Linked DNA regions of Homo sapiens: regions 1 and 2 are each linked to region 3. The links are contacts of gene promoters, found by promoter capture Hi-C in blood cells and fetal thymus (Javierre and others, 2016). All regions are on one chromosome and are shown on one strand. The core of a region is centred on a gene start or on the middle of the fragment in contact, and the rest is flanking DNA. Distances in the headings are between cores, read along the strand shown.

Region 1 (2,733 bases), core at 90-2,589, 530 kb after region 3:
GCCACACCCTGTCTGTATGCCCCTGATAAAAGAACAGAGCAAAGAGGAGGCTCCCAAAAATGAGGGAACCACTGAGTATGACTGACCGGGTAGGAGGCACGTTTGCCCCTCCACTCCCTTTTCCTCCAATGCTGCCAATAGTAATTCCCTCTGATGCGTTTTGATCCTATCACATTCTTTCTGAAAACCTTCCCCCTTTACTTTTCAAATCAGAGTAAATTGGAAGATTGGTTTCAAAGACATCCACCAATTAACCACCTTCTTTAACTCACTATCTTTATCTCCAGCTACACCCTGACATGTGCCTTCTGATAAGCAAGCTTGCTGTTTTCCAACATGTGATAAACGCTTCCCGCCTGTCTTGCTTTCATAATATCCTTAGCTGTATGTTCATAATCTCCATAATTATATCATTAACAATACATTACACATTTTTATGTCCTTTGAACTTTATAAAGATGGAGCCCATTGTACATAATTCCCAATTATTCCCTTTTTTTATTCAACATTAGCTTCTGAGTCTAGCAGACATCTGTGGTGGCCCACACCATGTCCCCTCAGCCCACCCAATTTTGGTGTAGCTGAGACTTGCAGGCAAGCTGCTAGCATGTCACCTCATAGGCCATGGCATTTTTCTGCTTGCCTGTCTTGGGGCTTTCTACAAAGCCTTGGAAGGCTGTGCAGCCCAGAAGTTCACCAAAGCTAACACCTCGGAGACATAAACAACAGTGAGAGGAGTCAAGACAAAATGCTCCAGGCTTGCACCTTCAGCTCTGAGCTGTATTCGACATGATTCCTCTGAGTGTTCCCAATGGGAGTGAGCACGGTGGTTCATAGTGGTAAGTAGCTCCGTACTGCACCTTTTATTGACTTTTCTTCCTTTTTTGCTCATTCCCATTTCTGCTTCCTGGGATTACCTCCTAAATACACTCTTGAACTGAAGTACTTGTCTCACACCTCACACTCTGTTCTGGGGGTGTACAAATTAAGACACTGAAATTAATCCAGGTTGTTTCACAGAGCACTAGGATATTCATTCACTGCTATATAGTAGACCATTATATAAATCTACCAACAGTTTCTCTCGTCCCTTAATGATAGAAATGTGGGTTGTTTCTGGGCTTTAGCTTTTATAAATAATACTGTCCTGAACATTCTTTTTTTTTTTTTGAGACAGAGTCTCGCTCCGTCGCCCAGGCTGGAGTGCAGTGGTACGATCTCGGCTCACTGCAAGCTCCGCCTCCTGGGCTCATGCCATTCTCCTGCCTCAGCCTCCGGAGTAGCTGGGACTACAGACGCCCGCCACCACGCCCAGCTATTTTTTTTTTTGTATTTTTAGTAGAGACGGGGTTTCACCGTGTTAGCCAGGATGGTCTTGATCTCCTGACCTTGTGATCCGCCCGCCTCGGCCTCCCAAAGTGCTGGGATTACAGGCGTGAGCCACCGCGCCCGGCCTCGTGCCCTGAACATTCTTGATAGGTATTTCCTGCTCACATGTGCAAGAATTTCTCTAGAGCACCAGTTCTTAATGTGTGGTCCACAAACACTTGAAGTCCCTGAGGCCCTATCATCCAGGTTAAAACTACATTCATCATAATAAAGACGTTATTTGCCTTTTTCACGGTATTGACATTTTCAAGGACACTGCAAAAGCAATAGTGGGTAAAACAGCTAGCACAAATCAGGAAGTGGCACCAAACTGTAGTAGAAGTTACAAATTTTATTAAATTTCAACTCTTAGATACACATCTTTTTAATAGTTTGTGTGACAAAATGGGAAGGATGCATAAACAGTTACGCTGCATATCAAAGTATGATGACTTTATCGAGGAAAAAACCTTAAGTGATTGAGTTGTGAGCTGAAGTAATCGCTTGACTCATGGAGCACCATTCTTACCTGAAAGTACAGCTGAAAGACAAAGTATAATTATTCAGACTTGGGTATTTGGCAGGCATTTTCTCCAAAATGAATAAAGTGCACCTGTCACTTCAGGAAAAGCAACTGACAGTGTTTGTTGTCAATGAGAACATTCAATCTTTTGAGCAAAAATTAGAATTTTGGAAAATTTTTATCTGCTGCTTGATACCCTCACAATAGCAAAAGACTTTTCTGATGAGATTGGCATTGATATTAATAAATGTGATTTTTTGATGTTGTATAATGAAATGTGTCAACATTTAGAAGATCTGTAAAACTCAGTGACTCAGCAATTTCCAAATGACCAATGGGTGTGTTGACAAAACCCTGCATGGGTAAAACATTCATTTAAAATGCAAGAAAAAACTGTGAGTGTTGCTGTAATAGAGTATAAAAAGGTCATTGCTATGGTTTCAGATTTCATGTCACAACTAAGCTTTAAAAAACTACCACTTGCTGAGTTTTGGTGTCTTATCAAAGAATATCCACGATTATCTGAAAAAGCTACTGAAATGCTCCTTTTCCAATTGCATACACTTCAACCACAAAACATACTGCAGCAGATTGAAAGATATAGCTGGCTTGAGAATACAGCTGTCTTCTATTAAGCCAGACATCTAAAATATTTATAGCCATTAAAAAGAATAAAATCCCATCATTCAAAGTGACATGGATGGAACTAGAAAACATTACGTTATATGAAATAAGTCAGGCACAGAAAGTTAAACACCACATGTTCTCACTCATAGTTAGATGTTAAAAAAAAAGAAAAAGTTAATCTCATAGAAGTGAAAAGCAGAACAGAGGTTACTAGA
Region 2 (2,857 bases), core at 337-2,836, 590 kb before region 3:
TTGCCAAACACTTCACTACACTCACTTCTTTAGGGCCCTTGAATATATCATGATGCTGCCCACAAGTCTTTGCACATGCTGTGGTTCCTAAAGCCTAGAACAATCCACCTTCCTCCCCCAATCCCTTCCAGCCCCACCCCTCCCAACTCAGGCAACTCCTACTTTCCTCCATTCACAAAATATCAAATGCTACCATGTGCCGAGCACAATGCGACAAAGTAAAATGACAGAGTCCCTGTCCTCACAGAGGTGAGAGAAATCATGTTATGGGCTAAGAAGGAAAAATACTGGGAGCTCTGAGGTAATATAAGAGAGAAGATCAAACTTAGCCTTAAGAATCCATGGAGGACTTCCCTATGGAAATGAAGTTTAAGCTGAGGCAAGGTGTCAAGTATATGTAATGAGCCAGAGGCTGAAAGGAACATGGGACATTCAAGGAATTAAAGAAACTGTGTGAGCGTGTAGAGAGCAAGGAGAGTAGCATGAGATGAGGCCAGTGATGCCATACTGTGCAGCACCATTATGAGTCACATTAAGGATTCTGAGCTTTAACCTAAGAGCATTGAGAAGCCACTGAAAGCTTCTGATCAGAAAGATTAGATCCCCATTTTCAAAAGATCACTGTGGCTGCTGGGACAATGAAGGGTACAAGAGTGAGGACAAGCTCTACAGTAATCTGGGGAGAGAGATGATGACAGCTTGGACTAAGGTGGTAGCAATGGAAATGGAAAAAAATAGATTTGCAATATGGTCAGGAGGGGAACAGCCAGGACTTGGTGACTAGTTGAGAGAAGGAAAAGAGAGTCAAATATTTTAATTGAATAACTGATAATTAGTTGTTTAATGTCTGCCTCCCTGTCTGAACCATGAGGACAGGGACCATGTCTTCTTTGGTTCCTTGCTGTATCTCCAGCATAGGACCAGGTATCAGTACACATTCAATTAATGTTTATTGAACAGATGGATGGATGGATGTGTGGCTGGCCAAAGAGGTTGTCTTCTGGGTGAGTGGGTACTAGCTCACCTCTGGGCATCAGGCTGTGAGATGGCATTCACAATGGCCTCCACACTGCTGTCGAAGAGCTCCGAGTCCTGCAGAGCAGCAAAGGCAGCCTGAATGAGCGCCTCACAGTCCTGCAGCGGCACCTCCAGCTGCACCCAGCTGGAGAAACACTTGAGCACCTTCTGACGCACACAGCTGGGTGAGCTGGGCTGCTGTAGCAGCTGCTCCAGCAGCGGGAAGACAGCCCCACATTCCACCGCCAGGCTGGTCCGCACCAGGCCTTTGCGGTACTGGGGTAGGCGACTGGTCTGGAACTCCTCAGGCAGCACTGTCAGCAGCTCTAACAGGGCTAGGCAGCGGCCCTGCCCATCCACTGGTGAGTCCTCAGCCTGGAAGAGTCGTACCATATCTGCCACAGCACATGGCCAAGCGTCAGGCATCATGCTGAGAGCCAGTGAGGCCAGTGCCACGCACAGCCGAGTCAGTACAATCTTGGAGCCACTGGCAAAGCGGGTGATCTGGGTGAAGAGCTGTGCCTTTAGGCTTTCATACTGGTCAGTGGGGATGTCACTCCAGTAGCGAGAGATCTTGATGTGAAGAGCACTGGCCCCAAAGTACTGGATCTCTGGTACCTTGTCGGGCTGCAGTAGCTGCCAGCTGAAGTGCCAGGCCTGTGGGGAGACCTGGGCCTGCATCAGCCACTTCTGAGCCAGGTTCTTATTCTCAATGTTGGGATCATAGTAGAGCTGGTGCAGCGCCTGCAGGACAGCACAGGACTGAGCAGGTGCTGGCCACTCTGGATCCTGCCAGAGCCCAGAACAGAGGCGTGACTTGGTCCTGCAAGGCTGCTCCCTCTCCCTGACTGGGGGGCTGAGCAGGGAGAGCTCAGCGCTCTGCAGTGTTTCCTGGGCCTGGGGTCCTGCTGATATCTTGAGAGCCTGAACCTTGCCCATGCTCTACCATATCCTCTTCTCCTTACAGCAAAACATTATGGGTTCAGAGAGGGAATCTCCACAGGAAAGCAAAAAAGAGGAGGCTGATCTCCCCAAAGGGGAGGCACTTGAGGGCAAGGCCCAGGTGGAAGGAACAGCTTCACAGGGATGAAGCTAAGTCTGAGAAGGGCATGGAACAGCTTGAGGGGACTTGACCCTCCCAGGCACAGCTGCTCCCATCAACTCCAACAGCTCCTTTCAGCTCCCCCAGGATCATCCCTAGGTCAGTCCAGATGCTGGCACCAAAGCCAGTGTGAAATCAGAGCAGGACTAAGACTTTTGCCAGGCAGCCCTGGGGCAGACATGCTGGAGGAGAGGGTGAGAACACTCCTCAGAGGGCACATGTCCAACCAATTGATCCAGAGAAGCCTTGGCCATAGCTGCAGCCCTGGCAAACACCTAGCTTAGTGCTCTCCACTAGCAGAATCCCCGGGGTCTCAATTCCAACGGGACTTTATGAAGTAAGAAAACAGTGAGATTTATCTCCCAATAGCACATGGAACAGTGCGCCACCATGCCAACACTGCCCTGCTCCAAGGGGCGGAAGAGTATGGCCAGGACCCTGACCCCTAAGCAGGCTCCATCCAAGTAAGCTTAGCTCTATTTGTACCCCTGACAGCCAGTTATGGCCATTGGCCCTTGTTTGGCCCCTCAGGGACGCCAAAGCAGGCAGAAGAGATGCATCCTCATTGTTTGTTATGGCAAACGGGGGTTAAGGATAACAAGTGAACATCATTCCCTGCTTTCAAGTAAGGGAGCCCCATCTCCCCATTCATCCCAGGGTGCATGCATTCCTGCATTTCAAGTTGTAGGGAGCAGATACAGAAAAGAACCAAAGAGGCAGTTCAGAAAGATGGGCTGG
Region 3 (2,700 bases), core at 96-2,595:
GATATATATTCCCCAGGCTGCTCCATTTGCAAAAGCTGCAGGATGTCACCAGAGCTTGCACTCCACAGGTACACACTGTTGTCCAGTGCCACGGCCAGTACATTCCCAGAACTCCAATCCACAAGGTTCAGGTCTGTCAGAGGTGGAGAGAAGAGCATGAGCTTCCTTGTTTGTGTGGTCCCAGGCCCTCTTTCTCCATGCATGAGGCGAGGATAAGGATGCACTTACAATAGTCATTTCGGATTTCAGGCGCATCCAGGATACGGTCTGGCAGGGAAGGAATGTAACGGCAGGTCTTCCGGCTGGAGCCAGGAGTGGCCTTTTGGCTGTAGAGTACTTTCAGTCTGTTCTGATAACCTGTGGCAACGGAGTGAGTCTAGACGCTGGGAAAATCAACACCTCCCTTGCCCTCAATCTTAGATAGGAAGAGGAGACAGATATCTGTGCTCAGCCCTGGAGATGAACTGACACCTCCCTCCAGGAACCAGGAACTTCGGGTCTTACCCTCTGGCGCATTTTGTGGTTTTCCACTGAGCCGAAGGATCTTGGCTTCCTCTACATCAAAACCGTTCAGGTTCAAAGCCCAGGCTTTCTGATGTTCCTGGCATAAAGGGTAGTGAAGGAGCAAGATGGTATTATCCAAAGAACAGTCAGGTCCCGTGCCTTAAGCCCCTCTGGGACACATACCTTCTTGGTGGGCGTCTGGCTGTTTTCAGGCTGGTTCTCCTTGCTCAGGAGGAAGCTGGCCACCTCCATCTGGGCAGCACTGCGATGGGGGATATAGCGGTCACCGCCAGGTTTGCTAGGAGTGGTCTGAACCTTGGAACTGGATTTGCCTGGGGCGGAGAAAGAGAAGACAGTCTGACCAGGCTCCCCAGGGAGAAAGTATGAAGGCTGCTCTCACTCAGTTCCTTTGGCACCTCACTGACCAGGAGTTCGGCCCGGAGTCCTGCCGGCGCTGTGGGATCGGTTGGCGGCCCGCATGGGTGAGGGGGCCGGGCCTGCGGCTTCCTTGGCTTTGCGCTGCCAGCGCGCAGGGGGTGCATTGGGGATGGGTGCATCCAGCTGAAGCAGCGAGTGCAGGTCACTCTCGAACGCGAACTGTGCCATGGGAGCGCCCGCAGGGGGAGGGGTCCTTGCAGTTGGTGCCTACGGAGCCCTGGAGGAAAGGAGGCGACGGTGCTCAGGGGACAGAAAGGGACCCCTTCGCTCCTGGCCGGCCACAAAATCAGGGCCACCCTCGGCTGCAGCCCCTTCCGGCCTAGCACCCCCTCCCCCTGGCCACGGCCCCACCTCGGCTCAGCCCCACCACCTCTCACCGTGCCCTCCGGAGCAGTTCCGACCGGCTTTAACACGCCTGGCTTACGCCTCTTAAACTCTCCGCTCCGAGCGCCTATTGGCTCCTTCAAAATCCAACCGTCGCAACCGTTGCCCTAGCCCATTGGCCTCTCCGGCGAAGGGGGCGGGCCTTCCGGGGAAAGTCTCAGCTATCACGAGAGTCTAGCGGCGGAGCGCGATTTGAAGGGTACGAGAGGGGCTGGGAGCCGGCGCCAGAGGACTAGTACTGGAAAGCCGGCCGGGACAGGGCGGGGCAGGGCGGGGCCGGGTGGGGCCTGCGCTGCCTCAGCGTCCTGGAGTCGTCTCGGTTCGCCCTTTTGCGTGCCTTCCACCGCCGCGAGCTCGGAATGTCTGGCCCCGGGTGCTTCAGGGTCCGAGAACCTGCAGAAGTTCACACTTAAATCCTACACGAGAGTCGTATTTATGATGCAGAACTCGGTGCAGAACCCGATGGAGTGCCCAAGGCGCTTGAGCCGTTCCTAGAAGGGGAAGGAGAGCCGCGGGCGGCAGCGGGGCAGGGGACGGAATTGGGAAGCTTGGGAGCAGGAAGAAGGCCAGAGCTACTTAGGGTACATTCCACTTTTGCTTGGCGCCGGGTAGGAACCCTGCTAGAAAGGAAGTAACGTGTGTTTGTCTCGTTTGCTGTTGTTTTACAAACAGGGAAAATGAGGTTGAAAAGGGTGAATGAATTCCTTAAGGTCAAGAAAAAGGATCGGTATTCAAACCTGCCTATCTGGAAGATAAGCTTAGACTGCCCTACAGGAGGCACTGTGGCTTATCCCCTTGGGGCTTTAAAGATGTGAGGACCTTAGAGATCCATTAGTCTAACCTGTGCGTGGTGCAGCCTCCCCACCCCGACAACAAATCCATATTTTACAGATGGAGAAACGGAGGCCCAGGGAAGGGATGTGCCCGAGGTCATACAAAGAAGTTTGTGGGAATCCAGGTCTGACTCGCACTCAATCTAGTGCTCTAATAATGACTTGAGTGAATTGTATGAATGTGCTCAGAGGTGGAGCAGCAATCATAAAAGTAATAATGGTACCATTTATGGACCATCTAACTACTGTGTTAAAACAATTTACAGGCCATGCGCGGTGGCTCACGCTTGTAATCCCAGCACTTTGGGAGGCCGAGGCGGGCAGATCACGAAGTCAGAAGATCGAGACCATCCTGGCTAACACGGTGAAACCCCGTCTTTACTAAAAATACAAAAAATTAGCCGGGCTTGGTGGCGGGCGCCTGTAGTTCCAGCTACTCGAGAGGCTGAGGCAGGAGAATGGCGTGAACCCGGGAGGCGGAGCTTGCAGTGAGCCGAGATCGAGCCACTGCACTCCAGCCTGGGCAACAGAGCGATACTCT

The links. Contacts are between HindIII fragments. The CHiCAGO score rates a contact against its expected background, and 5 or more counts as called.
Region 1: a contact is called between a fragment that was not itself captured here and the fragment with the promoter of CDC20 in region 3, in 2 of 17 cell types (neutrophils and erythroblasts). The highest score is 7.0, in neutrophils.
Region 2: a fragment that was not itself captured here is called in contact with the fragment with the promoter of CDC20 in region 3 in 1 of 17 cell types (naive B cells); the score reaches 5.0 in naive B cells.

What each region holds. Positions count from the first base shown.
Region 1 is chr1:42,822,785-42,825,517 of GRCh38, reverse strand. The region is part of intron 1 of ERMAP (erythroblast membrane associated protein (Scianna blood group)); the gene reads right to left. Among named protein-coding and RNA genes, the nearest start is that of SVBP, 6.8 kb to the right of the region's middle. The HindIII fragment of the contact is 2,034 bases long and covers 323-2,356 here.
Region 2 is chr1:43,948,321-43,951,177 of GRCh38, reverse strand. It overlaps IPO13 (importin 13), which reads right to left. Exons shown (of 20, transcript NM_014652.4): 2 at 1,025-1,761. Among named protein-coding and RNA genes, the nearest start is that of IPO13, 2.8 kb to the right of the region's middle. The HindIII fragment of the contact is 2,008 bases long and covers 583-2,590 here.
Region 3 is chr1:43,357,626-43,360,325 of GRCh38, reverse strand. CDC20 (cell division cycle 20) reads right to left here and starts at 1,345. Exons shown (of 11, transcript NM_001255.3): 1 at 1,320-1,345; 2 at 930-1,159; 3 at 688-836; 4 at 505-601; 5 at 229-357; 6 at 1-133. The coding sequence starts at 1,110. CDC20-DT (CDC20 divergent transcript) reads left to right here and starts at 1,653. Exons shown (of 4, transcript NR_183650.1): 1 at 1,653-1,776; 2 at 2,218-2,284; 3 at 2,426-2,523. RefSeq lists silencers at 1,157-1,306, 1,497-1,606 and enhancers at 1,049-1,557, 1,897-1,956, 2,068-2,576. The HindIII fragment of the contact is 10,275 bases long and covers 1-1,875 here.